2 separate regions of the Homo sapiens genome follow, and region 1 is linked to region 2. Evidence: promoter capture Hi-C in 16 types of primary human blood cells and fetal thymus (Javierre and others, 2016). All regions are on one chromosome and are shown on one strand. Each heading gives the region's core, a stretch centred on a gene start or on the middle of the fragment in contact. The rest is flanking DNA. Distances are from core to core; before and after follow the strand shown.

What was found. The method cuts DNA at HindIII sites, captures the fragments that hold promoters and counts their contacts. A CHiCAGO score of 5 or more calls a contact.
Region 1: a contact is called between a fragment that was not itself captured here and the fragment with the promoter of ATG16L2 in region 2, in 1 of 17 cell types (endothelial precursors). The highest score is 6.4, in endothelial precursors.

What each region holds. Positions count from the first base shown.
Region 1 is chr11:73,334,789-73,337,488 of GRCh38, forward strand. The region is part of intron 1 of ARHGEF17 (Rho guanine nucleotide exchange factor 17); the gene reads left to right. It overlaps LOC124902710 (a long non-coding RNA gene), which reads left to right. Exons shown (of 2, transcript XR_007062774.1): 2 at 1-2,700. Among named protein-coding and RNA genes, the nearest start is that of ARHGEF17-AS1, 27 kb to the left of the region's middle. The HindIII fragment of the contact is 1,697 bases long and covers 574-2,270 here.
Region 2 is chr11:72,813,019-72,815,718 of GRCh38, forward strand. It overlaps ATG16L2 (autophagy related 16 like 2), which reads left to right and starts at 1,393. Exons shown (of 18, transcript NM_033388.2): 1 at 1,393-1,545. The coding sequence starts at 1,428. It overlaps LOC107984421 (a long non-coding RNA gene), which reads right to left and starts at 1,049. Exons shown (of 3, transcript XR_007062771.1): 1 at 1-1,049. RefSeq lists enhancers at 1-5, 2,016-2,165 and silencers at 546-635, 1,036-1,485. The HindIII fragment of the contact is 2,352 bases long and covers 4-2,355 here.

The sequences.
Region 1 (2,700 bases), core at 172-2,671, 520 kb after region 2:
GAACAAGAGGGGCTGGAAACAGACCCTGGATAACTTCCGTTCCCACGATCCCAGCCCCCCTGCAGGCTGGGGAACTGGGTGGAGGATAGGGAAGGGATCCCTGCTTTCCAGTGCTCTGTGCAGGTCAGGAATCAGAGGCTGAACGGTGGTGGTCCTGGGCCACAGGGCCTGATTCCCTGAGCACTGGTCTGGTGCTGAGCCAGTGTTAGACATTTTGAATGAAATAACTTTTAGAGCTGGGAGAGGAGGGCCCCTGGAGGTCATCTCATTCATAGGTTTTAAGCCAGGGCTGGGACCACAGGCCAGGCCAGTATGTAGGCAGAAGTGTGCATAGGGGAAGGTGGGTGCATTTCCTGGGAGCCCTAAAGCAGGAGTTGCCAGATTTAGCAAGTCCTACCTACCCTAAGGCCTCATGGGATTACCAGTGGGGTCCTTCTCGACTGCCAAGGGCAGGGCAACCTCCCCTGCTCAGACTCAGATGTGGGACCCAGAAGATCTGGGTTCTGGTTTCTCTGCCTGTAAAATGGGGGTGACAGTCCCAGCCTCTTGGGCTGAGAGGATGATTGCATTCAAAGCTTCTGAGCTCCTAAGATGTTTTTCACATCTGTTGGGGGTCTGTCTATCCATCTACTTCTCAAGCCCCACCTCCTGCTTCCCGCTATTATCCATAATGAGAAACTTTTCCTTCCCAGCCTGGAAGGTCCAGCTGTATCTTCTTGAAATTGGGAGGGAGGGGGGCGGATCTCAGAGAAGAAAGAAAGGGAAAAAACCCACATTAAAAAAAAAACCCACCAGTTAAATTCAAACCACATGCACCACAGCCCCTGCCATGTGGGCCTCTGCTGCCACCTGTGGGCGTCTGGTGGAAGTGCAGTTCTTGGGGCTTCAGCTTCCTCACTGGAGCCATAGGCTTAATCCTGAAGCCTGAAATCAGGAAGGAAGGTCAAGCTGTCCATCCTCCACCTCTGAGCATGACCTCACCCCCACCACCTCTGCTGCCAGGAAGCCTGGTGGGGAATTTAGAATCCATCTACACCTTCCCTTCTCCCCCATTTGTTTACAGAGGGGGAAACTGAATCCCAGAGTGGAGAGGAATTTGGCTAAAGTTGCAAAGCAAGACAGTCAATAGATAAGTATTGTACACCTACTGTATGTCAAGAGACCTGGTCTCTGCTCTTATGGATCTTCTGGTTGTGGAAAGCAGGGAGCAGACATTGAGACCGTCCTATTTCCATCTAACTCCCAGCCATCCATGGAAGAGAATACAGCCTCCTACCTTCTCATTCAAGGTGCTCTGGGCTTGGCTTGACTTCTTGTTAATGTGCTCTGTGACCCTGGTGAGGTCACTCAGCTTCTCTGATATGCCAGTTACTTGGGGTCAAATCCCAGCTTTGCCACATCCTGACTTCATAACCTCAGGCAAGTTGCTTTGCTTCCTGGAGCCTTTGTTTCCTCATCTGTAAAATGGCCATAACAGGAATACATAACTCAGAGGACTGGTGTGAGGACTAAATGAGATAATACATGAGAAACAGTGCCTCACTAAACATTAGCCAGCTGTATACATGAGCTCCCACCAAGGATACAGTGAGCACACCTCATTCCCAGAGGTCTAGGAGGGGGCTGGGAGCGCAGTGGGTACGGGGGTCCCTTCTGGGCTAAGAGTGCACCAGCAAGGTTCAGCAGTTAGAAGTCGGGCCTGAGTCCCAGCATAAGGAATGAGGGCTACCACCTCCATCCTCCTTTCAGCCAGCAGGGACAGTTTCTGGAAGGAGTGGTGAGGTTGGAGTCCCAGCTGGACCCCTCTGGGGCAATAGATGAAATCTAGCCTGTGCAGAAATCATCCCCTTCCTTCATTTCTCCTGTCAGCATATGAAGGACCCTGGGTTCACATTCCGTCTCTTCCACTCACTGCCTGTGTGACCATGGCTCCTCCACCTCCCTGATCCTCAGTTTCCTCAGCTAGGCACTTCTCACTGAGAGTCATGCAGTGTGGTCGGATAGTGCTGGGCTGGAATTACCTTGAAGGCATCCTCACTCACAAATTGGTGATTAATGCTGGCATTTGGCTGGACCTCATCTGGCCTGTCAGCTGGCATACCTACACATGGCCCCTGCATGTGGCCTGGGCTTCCCCACAACGTGGAGGCTGGGTTTCAAGAATGAGCAAGCCAAGAGAGCAAGATGGAAGCACATGGCATTTTTATGACCTAGCTTTGGATGTCACATAGTATCATTTCTGCTGTGCTCTGTGGTCAAGGCAGTCACAAAGCTTTACCCAGCTTCAAAGGGAGGGGACCTGGACCTCGTCTTTCTGTGGGAAGAGTCAATACCACATTGTAAGAAGAACATGTGGGCCAGGCGCAGTGGCTCGCGCCTATAATCCCAGCACTTTGGGAGGCCGAGGCAGGAAGATTGCTTGATCCCAGGAGTTCAAGACTAGGCTTAATCTCTAAAAAATATTTTTAAATTAGCTGGGCGTGGTGGTGCGCACCTGTACCCCCACCACTCAGGATGCTGAGACAGGAGGATCGCTTGAGCCCAGGAGTTTGAGGTTGCAGTGAGCTGTCACGCCACTACACTCCAGCCTGGGTGACAGAGTGAGACCCTGTCTCAAGAAAAAAAAAAAAAAAAAAGCATGTGAGATGATAGCTATCTTCAAAACATACAGTCTACCTGAAGATGATTATGAGGAAAACA
Region 2 (2,700 bases), core at 143-2,642:
AGAAGCTTGAACTCAGTGTAGGGGCAGGAAAGTTCTCCTGGAGGAGGTGATGCATGATTAGGAGCCAGGCCCCCTAGAGGCGACGATGTTCCAAACATCAGGCTCGGCCTGTGCAAAGGCCATGGGCGTCTAAGACAATGACATGTGGGGGACTGAGCCCAGCTCACTGGAAGCAGAGCAGGCTACACTGACCTGGGGGCGTCTAGGCCTTCACTGCTTTCTACGTCCTCTGACCCATCCCCATCAGAATCTCAACAGACTCGTCACCTCCAGGGCCTGCACTGCTCTCCCATCGTTGCCCAACTTCTCTCGTTCCCTAGGGATGTTCAAGTCTGCCAACACTCAGAGGGCAGGGCCTGCTGGCATGCCCCAGGGTGAGGCTGTGCCCAGCGAGTCCCTCCTTTCGTGTCTCACAGTAGCCTGAGCCTGCAGAGCTGGCTCTCTAGCATCTAGCTAGAGACGGTTTGACCACAGTTCCCTGCGACCCATGATTCACTTTCGAGGGTACCCACAAGAGATGTGTCTGCTCCTCCAGACGCCGCCCAATGGGGTGAAGCGTCTGGCCCTGAGTCAGGATGCTGGGGTGCTGGCCGTCTCAGCTACCCACTCCTTTGCAACCCCAGGCAAGCAAGCTCGTTCTCTCCTCCCGGCCAGGGGCTTTCTAGATGAAATCAGCTGCACCCCTTTACTCTCAGGGACCTAAAATTTCGGCGACCATGTGGAGCCGTAAACCCTTCTGCCTCCTGTCCTCCCAGCCCCGCACCCACCTGGCGTTTTCGTGTCACGGAACCTCTGCACGTGCTCTTCTCGAGGCCTAGAGTCCCTCTCTCCCTCTGGCCAACTCCTATTTCATCCCTCACAGACCCAACTCGAACGCCATCATCCCCGGAAAGCGGGGATTCCTCCCTTCAGTCTCTGCTTCCTTATCTTGCTGTCCTGCTGCGCCGCGCCCTCAGTGTACGCGCAGAGCCCGGGGCTGAGGGCCTCTGGGTCCCTGGCTGGGTGCGCGGCCAGGAGCGCGACGGCCTGGGAAGCACCAGCGGCTCTCGAACTCGGCCCGGGCGCGGCGGGGTTAAGACACCCGGGCCTTGAGGGCCCCGCCTCCGGAGCGCTCCACCCGCGTGGGGGAAGCCTCCCCGGAGGCTCCGACCTCGCTCCTGCTTATGACCCTCGCAGCCACAGGAGCCCCCACTTAGGTGAACATTTCGGACGGGGCCCCGGCGGTTCAGACCCGGAGGCGGCTCCTCCCGGAGGCAGATCCTCCCGGCGTCGGCCTTCGGTCCTCCCCGCCAAAGCCCTCTTGGGACAAGCCGGGGATTCCCCGCCGCCGCCCGCCCCCTGGCGTCACGGAGTCCCCGCGAGGCCCCGCCCCGGCCTGGCGCCGTCCTGGGCGGGAGGAACGCGCCGCTAGGCGGGAGAGCGCGGCCATGGCGGGGCCGGGCGTCCCCGGTGCCCCCGCAGCGCGCTGGAAACGCCACATCGTGCGGCAGCTGCGGCTTCGGGACCGTACGCAAAAGGCGCTTTTCCTGGAGCTGGTGCCGGCCTGTGAGTGCGCCCCGGTGCTGAGAGGATGGCGGCTGAGGGGACGCGGCTACGGGCGCGGGGAGAGGGTTTGGCTGGCTCCTCCGCCTGTGACCCGAGTGCGCTGTGCCTTATGCCTTGAGCCTGTGCGTTACGCCCATCCCGACTGCCAGGACTCCGCCCCTTGCCATCCAGGCTCTGGTTAGAACCTGGACGAGCCCCTCCTGGTCCCCCTGCCCTCGTCGCCCCTCAGGACGGGCTCTGCCTCCCACAAGCTGGGCTTCCGAGACGCAAGTGCGTCCTCGGGTGTTGGTTTTGCAGGGTCTCTTTTGCCTCCCCACCCGGGCAGTCCCCGGGGTAGGGGCTTGATCAGTGCACTTAGTCTCGGTAGCGCAGTGAAAGAACGCGGGACTTGTCCAGAGCAGCCACTTATTGGCCCATCCGGAGAGGGGCGACACTCGGAACCTCTAAGGAGGAGGCTGTGCATCTCAGGCTCTGCCGCTGACAGGCGACGCTGGCACAGGCTTATGGAACACCTCCCTGTCAGCCTACCCAGCCTGAGGGGGCATCAGGGGGCCCCGGGCTGCTGGTGGATGCTGGCTGAGCCCAGCGAAGTCGGACTCTCAGAATTGTTTCTGGGCAGCTGGTCAGGATAGGGTGTGGCATTTCAAGAGGGGATGAACAGGTGTGCCTGTGTGTCGCACCTCTGGCCGCCTGCGATTGTATGTCTGTGGTTGGAAGTCTAACCACAATCCCTGCGGCTCTCTCACTGGGGCTAATCTTGGCCAAACCCCCACAATCAAATCTGCTCTTAGCCAGGAAAATTTCTCTGCAAGCTTCCAGGCTGCTGGTCCTCTACCTTCAGGGTTGCGAGGCCAGCCCCCACCTCCAGCAGCCACACTTCTCCACTGCTCAGACAGACAGTGGAACCGTCCAGTTTGAGGGAGGGGGTCACCGCCCCCCCAACCCCTGCCCCCCGCCCCGACCCAGGGAGCTGTGAGTCTGAGGGACTAGAGAGATCTGGAGGGCTGAAATCAGACTGAAGGGCCAGTCTTGAAACCTTGGGCAGATCACATCGCTAAGCCTCAGTCTTCTTACTTGTTAATTGGGTATAGAGACCTTCTTTAGGTTTGCTGGGTGCTGCAGTACCCTGGGGGCTGAGGTGGGGTTTTCATGAGA